Regions from separate parts of the Homo sapiens genome. Here region 2 is linked to region 1. The links are contacts of gene promoters, found by promoter capture Hi-C in human tissues and cell types (Jung and others, 2019). All regions are on one chromosome and are shown on one strand. The core of a region is centred on a gene start or on the middle of the fragment in contact, and the rest is flanking DNA. Distances in the headings are between cores, read along the strand shown. Region 1 holds the start of FBXO42 (F-box protein 42). Region 2 has its middle 8.0 kb from the start of SRARP.

Evidence for each region. The method cuts DNA at HindIII sites, captures the fragments that hold promoters and counts their contacts. A contact is called where the count stands out against the background at its distance.
Region 2: a fragment that was not itself captured here is called in contact with the fragment with the promoter of FBXO42 in region 1 in 2 of the 25 tissues and cell types used here (adrenal gland and thymus).

Annotation. Positions count from the first base shown.
Region 1 is chr1:16,351,070-16,354,720 of GRCh38, reverse strand. FBXO42 (F-box protein 42) reads left to right here and starts at 2,241. Exons shown (of 10, transcript NM_018994.3): 1 at 2,241-2,466. RefSeq lists an enhancer at 2,202-2,976. The HindIII fragment of the contact is 10,214 bases long and covers 1-3,651 here.
Region 2 is chr1:15,994,315-15,998,113 of GRCh38, reverse strand. It overlaps the pseudogene TBC1D3P6. Among named protein-coding and RNA genes, the nearest start is that of SRARP, 8.0 kb to the left of the region's middle. RefSeq lists a silencer at 3,322-3,471 and an enhancer at 3,378-3,799. The HindIII fragment of the contact is 7,612 bases long and covers 1-3,799 here.

The sequences.
Region 1 (3,651 bases), core at 992-3,491:
CAGCCCTTGGGAGATCCTGAGAACATGTGCCCAAGGTGGTTGGGAAGCAGCTTGGTTTTATACATTTTAGAGAGACATGAGACATCAATCAAATACATTTAAGATATATTAATACAGGGCCAGGTGCAGGGGCGTATGCCTGTAATCCCAGCACTTTGGGAGGCCGAGGCGGGTGGATCAACTGAGGCAAGAGTTCGAGACCAGCCTGGCCAACATGGTGAAACCCCGTCTTTACTAAAAATACAAAAATTAGCTGGGTGTGGTGGCACATGTCTGTAATCCCAGCTACTCAGGAGGTTGAGGCACGAGAATCGTTTGGACCTGGGAGGCAGAGGTTGCAGTGAGTGGAGATCACACCACTGCACTCCAGCCTGGGCGAAGAGTGAGACCCTGTCTCAATAAATACATAAAAAGGCCAGGCGCCGTGGCTCACACCTGTAATCCCAGAACTTTGGAAGGCCGAGGTGAGTGGATCACGAGTTCAGGAGTTTGAGACCAGCCTGTCCAAGATGGTGAAACCCCGTATTTTCTACTGAATTTTGTATTTTCTACTGAAAATACAAAAATTAGCTGGGCACGGTGGCGGGCGCCTGTAATCCCAGCTACTCGGGAGGCTGAGGCAGGAGAATCGGTTGAACCCAGGAGGCGGAAGTTGCAGTGAGCGGAGATGGTGCCACTGCACTCTAGTCTGGGCGACAGAGCAAGACTCAGTCTCAAAAAAATAAACAAATAAATAAAAATAAGTAAATAAATAAATAAAAACTACATTGGTTCGGTGCAGAAAGACCGGAAACTTGAAGTGGGGGCTTCCACATTATAGGCAGATTTAAACATTTTCTGATTGGCAATGAGTTGAAATAGTTATTATCAATAGGCCTGGTGCGGTGGCACACGCCTGTAATCCAAGCATTTTGGGAGGCCGAGGCAAGTGGATTACTTGAGCTCAGGAGTTTGAGATGAGAGTGGACAACATGGCGAAACCCTGTGTCTACAAAAAAAATGGAAAAATTAGCCAGGCATGGTGGTGCCCGCCTGTAGTCCCAGTTACTCAGGAGGCTAAGGTAGGAGGATAGCTTGAGCCTGAAAGACAGAGGTTGCAGCGAACCAAGAACTCATCACTGGACTCCAGCCTGGGCAACAGAGTTAGACCCTGTCTCAAAAAAAAAAAAGTTATTATCAATAGAAATGAATGTCTGGGTTATGATAAGGGATTGTGGACACCAAAGTTTTATCACGCACGTGAAGCCTCCAAGTGGCAGGTGGGCTCCAGAGAGAACAGATTGTAAATGTTTCTTACCAGTCTTAAGGTCTGTTGTGTTGATGTCAATGCTGAAGGATGTAATGAGGCATGTCTCATGTCCTGCTTCCCGTCATGGCCTGAACCAGTCTCTCAGGTTGGTTACATTTTAGACTGCCCTGGCCTAGGAGGAAGTCCGTTCAGATGGTTTGGTGTTGGGGGGGGGGTGGGGGCTTAGTTTTTTGTTTTGTTTTGTTTTGTTTTTTTGGCTTACAGAGTTTAGACTGAAGCCTTTGACTCTGTATCTGGCATTTCCTTAGACCACATGCTGTAGGGCTGGGCTCATGAAGGTTCTCACCTACACACCAGGTTGCTCCCTTGAGAAGGGGGACTTTGCTGGATCCTATAACCTAGCTAGTAGGAAGTAAAGGAGCTTGGGAACCAGACAAGCCTGAGTTTAAATCCTCTTTCCCGCGCCGCCCCACCTCCACTGATAGGTGTGTGACTCCGGGCAAATAAGTGATCGTTTTCTGTGCCTCAGTTTCCTCATCTGAAAAGTGGAGCTAGTAAGAACTCACAGTGGTTGCTACGAGGCTACGGTTAAGGGAAGACTTCTCCTGCACACCTCAAGCACAGTTTCCCTCCCCTTGGCGATATCCAAGAGCACTCACATCCGCCACAGCCCTCTCTGCTCATCGGGCCCTCGGGGTAGAAGTGAGTTAATTCCTGGCTAAATGTTAGTCTCAAACCACCGGGAAAACCACCCAGTTGCCCCAGACAGTGCAGCGGAGGGTGGGTGCGGCTATCAGGTCGACGCTAGAGACGCGGCGAAGGCGGGTGCGGAGGCCTAGCTCCCCCGAGCGCATTCCACCCTCCACAGAACCTCGGCCTGTGACCACGGCCTTTCTCAACACTGCGCCGCCCCCTGGCCGCCCCTCGCCATCCCGCCGCGCTGACGTGAGTGCGCGCGCGTCCGCCGCGCCCGCCCCGGCGCATGCGCGCTCTGCGCTGTCTTCTCCCGGCCTGAGCAGCAGCAGCTGCGGCGGCGGCGGCGTTTGAGTGGAGGAAGATGGCGGCTCCGGGCGGCTCGGGGTCCCGCCAGCTGTGAGGAGCCCCGAGCACGGCTGTCGCGGCCTGAGGCAGAGCGCCTCTGCTCTGGCCCTGTCCCTGGCTCCCTCATTACCGTCGCCAGCGGAGCGAACCCGAGAGCGTGGAGCGGGCTGGGCCAGGTGAGGCCTCTCCTCCTCCCCGGGCCGCAGAGGGGAGCCGGCGCCTTCTGCCCTTTATGCCCGGGACTGGCAAGGGGCAGCGGGCGCCCGGGGTCTGACGCAGGCCCCGTATCCCACGCGGGGGTCGGTCCTGGTTGGGCAGGGTGACTTGCTATCGCCGTCCTCGAGTGAGGCGAGGAGGAGGACAGCTCCTTTCCAGCCAGCCCTTGGGTTGGGAGCGAACCCACCCCCTCTCCTCAGCAGGGTGGTTCTCGTCCCCTCACCCGGGCAGTGAAGGGGTGTGTGGCCCGGGCAAGGATGGCTTTAGGGTGTCAGGTAATCTTTCATCGCTCCTCCGAACATTTCACTCCTTTGCGAGAGAGGAGTCGGGGGTCGGGTGCCCATCAAAATTGGGGCTGCGGCTGGGGGCTAGCATCTCTGAACCTGCAGCTGCAAAGGGATAATTTTGGAATTGGTTTACGTTAAATAAAACACAAAAGGCCTTTCCTATCCCCTAGCTTGTTGAGTGTTCCCTTAGAGAAATGGGAACTGCGGATCTCCTTGCTTGAGACAGCAATCCATGCTGTGACTGTGGAAGGCTTCTCTTGGCGAGAATTGTGTGTGCAAAGGGAACGGTGGAGGGTGGGAACGAATTTGTAAGCGAAGAGAAAACGATTGTGAGATCTTGATGGTCGCTGCAGAGTAACTTCAGCGCTGAGTTCGTTTGAAACCTTCGGTTTGTTAAGATTCAGAATAACCAATTGCTTTGTCTGTTAAATCTCCCGATTTCTGTTAGGAAAATAAAAGCCTCATTTCTTAATTGCCAGAGTCTGGATTTTTCTGTGGTGGGATTCTGATCGATCTAGATGAAGATTCTGACACATTACCAGTTTTACTTGCTGGCAGTTGCTGGCCCCGACGTTGAAACTATGTTGTTCCTTTTTGAGAACAACTTTTATTGCTGTTTAAATGCTAATTGGGAGACTTCGATTGTGTTTCTGTCATGTAGGGAAGTCGGTTTGAAGCCTTGTGGTCTCTTTCTTGAGGAATGATGGCTTCACTGAACTTGTGCTATGCAGAATTGTTGAGGCGATTGCTTTTGCTTGGACACACCAAAATATCTTTTGTAACAAATTGGCTTTACTTCTGCTTAAGAATGATGACATCATGGATTTAAAGAGGCAAGGAAAATTTGGGGGAAGTACC
Region 2 (3,799 bases), core at 737-3,236, 360 kb after region 1:
GCAGGGAGCATTCCGGGCAGTGGGAATGGCTTGTGCAAAGGCCCTGAGGCAGGAGCATGATTGATATGCTTCAGGCCCAGAGGGGAGGTCTGCATCTGACCTGGTGTGAGCAGGGAAGAGCGGCAGGCAGCTCAGGAAGAGAAGTCCCAGGTTCAATGACCTGAGGGCATTGCAAGGCTTTAGTTCTCACTCAGAGGAGCTGGGGAGCCATTGTGCAGTGCAAGAGCCAAACTGAATGGGTTCCAATTTCAGCTCAGCTAGCAGGGAGCTATGTGACTGCACCAGGGCTGAGCCAACCCACCTGTGCATGAGTGACAGCACCTCACGGGTTCCAGAGCTCGCATGTCCATGGTCCAGCTTAGTGCGTGGCACGCCAAGAATACTTGAGAAATGGCAGCTAAGGACTGTCGCCTCAGGAGGGTCTCTTCTCATTTCCAAAGCTGTCTTCTGCTTGATGAAATGCACACAGACACTGGGCAAGTATGTGTTGAGCTTCTAATCTCTCCCAGACACCGGAGACTCAGCCATAGACTGGCCGAGTTCCCTGCCCTTGTGCTGCACTCCCCTTGAGGAGACAGATGATGGGGACATGTAAGGAGCTAAGACATCCTGAGCTGGGAAGGAGGGAAGCAGGGGCTAAGGGATGGAGGCAGCTGGTGGGGGCAGGTGGGGGTGGCAGGGATGCCTGGAGCCTGGGACTGGGGCCGGACTCTGCACTGCTCTGCTTGAGGACCTAGCTGGGCTCTGACTCATGAGGGCAGACAGTGGCCAGGGTGAGGCTGGCGCAGTGCAGCCCCTTCCCCACTGCTGAAGACGCTGCCTTTGTGGGGTGGTAGCACAGGCTTTGGGGAGTTGAGAGCCATCCTCATCCTAGAGGTGGTTGTTTCTGGAAGCAAAAATCCAGGGTTTATGCTCCTGGGACAGGGGAACCTTGGGGCCTCGCGTCCTCCCCATAACCTTCGCATTGGGCAGCAAAGGCATCTTCCTGTTGAGTCTGAGGGAGAGAGAAGTGGTGTCACTCGCGGTGTCAGCTTTCATCTCACAGTGGCCCTGTGAGGTAAGGACCATGATCAACCCAGTTTACAGATGAGGACACTGAGGCTCAGAGAAGTTACATGGTTTGTCCAAAGTGACACACTAAGTGGCTGAATGGGATTGAATCCAGGTCTCTCTGAGACAGCCCAAGCTGTTGATGGAACCCTCTGGCTCACGGATGAGCAGGTAAAGTGAACAAACACTTTAGAATGCTTATCTGGGGGTGGGGGTGCAGGGAATTGAGCCTTCTATGGGGCCCGGAAGATTTACAGTTGTCCCTCGGTGTGTGTAGGGGAATCAGTTTCACCACCTTCCACAAATACCAAAATCCACAGATGTTCAAGTCCTGATATAAAATGGTGCAGTATTTGCATATAGCCTAAGTACATCTTCCCGTAGACTTTAAATCATCTCTAGATTACTTATGCAATCACATGTCAGATAATGATATTTCAGTCCATGCCAGAATGCACATAGGATGGTGGTCCCATAAGATTATAATGGAACTGCCCTATACAGGTGCACCATCTCTAAAAATTGATATCTCAAAAGAGATGGGGTCTTTTTATATTGCCCAGACTAGTCTAGAAGTCCTGGGCTCAAGTGATCCTCCCAGCATGGCCTCCCAAAGTGCTGGGATTGTAGGTATGAACCACCATACTTGGCCAGGTGTACCATTTTTTATCATTTATACTGTATTTTTATGATCCTTTTCTGTGTTTAAATACACAAATAGCCACCATTGTTTTTGTTTGTTTGCTTGTTTGTTTGAGACAGAGTTTCACTCTTGTTGCCCAGGTTGGAGTGCAATGATGCGATCTCAGCTCACTGCAATCTCCGCCTCCCAGGTTCAAGCGATTCTCCTGCCTCAGCCTCCTGAGTATTTGGGATTACAGGTGCCCGTCACCATGCCCAGCAGATATCTGGGCAGCCATTTTTTGTATTTTTAGTAGAGACGGGGTTTCACCGCGTTGGCCAGGCTGGTCTCAATCTCTTAACCTCAGGTGATCCAGCCGCCTCGGCCTCCCAAAGTGCTGGGATTACAGGCATGAGCCACCATGCCCGGCCCACAAATAGCCGCCATTATGTTACCATTGCCTATAGTACTTAGTACAGTAACATGTTGCAGAGGTTTGGAACCCAGCAGCAACCAGCTCTACTATTCAGCCCAGGTGTGTGTTTGGCTGTAGCCTCTGGAGGAAGCTAAGGAGAAGTGACCTAAAGGCAGAGGGTGAGTCTGAGGTGGGATCCCAGGACAGGTACAAGAAGTTAGGCAAAAGAGGATGAAATCTGAAAAAATTTCACTATGTTAATATAATTACTGCGTTAATAACTTTAGATAATAGTTAACATTATTATTTAGTTAACAGGATTGCACCCAAGATAAATTAATTTTTTTAAAGAGATAAATTCTCATTCTGTCACCTAGGCTGGAGTGCAGTGGTGCGATCATAGCTCACTGCTTCCTGGAACTCTTGGGCTCGAGCAATCCTCCTGCCTCAGCCTCCTGATTAGGTGGGACTATAGGCACACGCCATCATGCCTGGCTATTTTTTTTTACTTTTCTCTAGAGGCAAGGCCTACCTGTGTTGCGCAGGCTGGTCTCAAACTCCTGGGCTCAAGTGAACCTGCCTCAACCTCTCAAATTGCTGGGATTACAGGTGTGAGCCACTACAGCCAGCCCACATTTCTTAGTTTGGACAAATGTGCCATGGTAATGCAAAATGTCATTACTAGGGGCAGCTGGGTATAAGGTGTAGAGTACACTACAGTGTCTTTTCAATTTTTCTGTGTATCTAGAATCATTTCAAAAGTAAACATTTATTTTAAAACGTGAAAGTGTTTATCCTTCCATGAGTGTAAAGTACAAAAGACAGGCTCATGGTGTCAACGGAAGTCAGGACACTGGTTGTGGGGCCGGGGGCGCTGGAGGGGCTGGCCATGGTTGGCTTTGTGATCTGGGGGCTGGTGTGTTCCATCTGTGAATGTCTTTCGAGCTGCACACTTACCAGGGATGTAAGTCATGTCTTAATACATTTTCTTAAGTTTAACACCAAATAAAATGAGAATGAAAAGCTTGTTTGGGTTGTGGGGATTCGGTTGTTTATCCAGTCATGAGCCCTGGCCTAGATGCTTCTAGAAGCCTGGAGGGAACTGAGAACATTCCAAGTAGAGGTGGCAGAGCCAAGGCCCTGAGGTGGGAACACACTGCTGCATGTCTCTAGCTGTGAATGGGGTCCCCTAGTCGGAAGCAGTGCTGTGTGCCCTGCAGGGCCAGCAGGTCCATGTCCACATTATGGGTCAGTGCAGTGAAAGCCAATCTCAGCCCCCTCCGCAGTGTGACCAGCCTGCCAGCAGGTGGCCAGCTGGTCCATCCCAGGGACTGGGTGCAAGTCTCTTGTCAATAGAGAGGGCGCTCAGCCATGGTGTCAGCCTAGTGAGCCTTGGTAAGGGCCCGTGCAGGATGCTGAACCTCTTCCGTCCCCATGACCGTCTCAAGACCACTTGCTCGGTGGGCGCATCCAGCAGGCGTGGTGGCCGGGAAAGAAGCAGGCTGCATCCATAGGGCGTGCCATTTTGCTCGACTCAGGACCCAGAGCATCCTCCGTAGTAATTCTCTTCGGTGGGAGCACTGGGAACTTGAGCCACAGATACCTTCCAAGTCTGAGCTGCTGAGGCGAGGGCTGCAGGGCGCCCTGCTGTCAGGAAAGCCTGCACCAGCAGCTGGAAGGCACGTGGTGGGGGCGCCTGCTGTGGCTCCAGC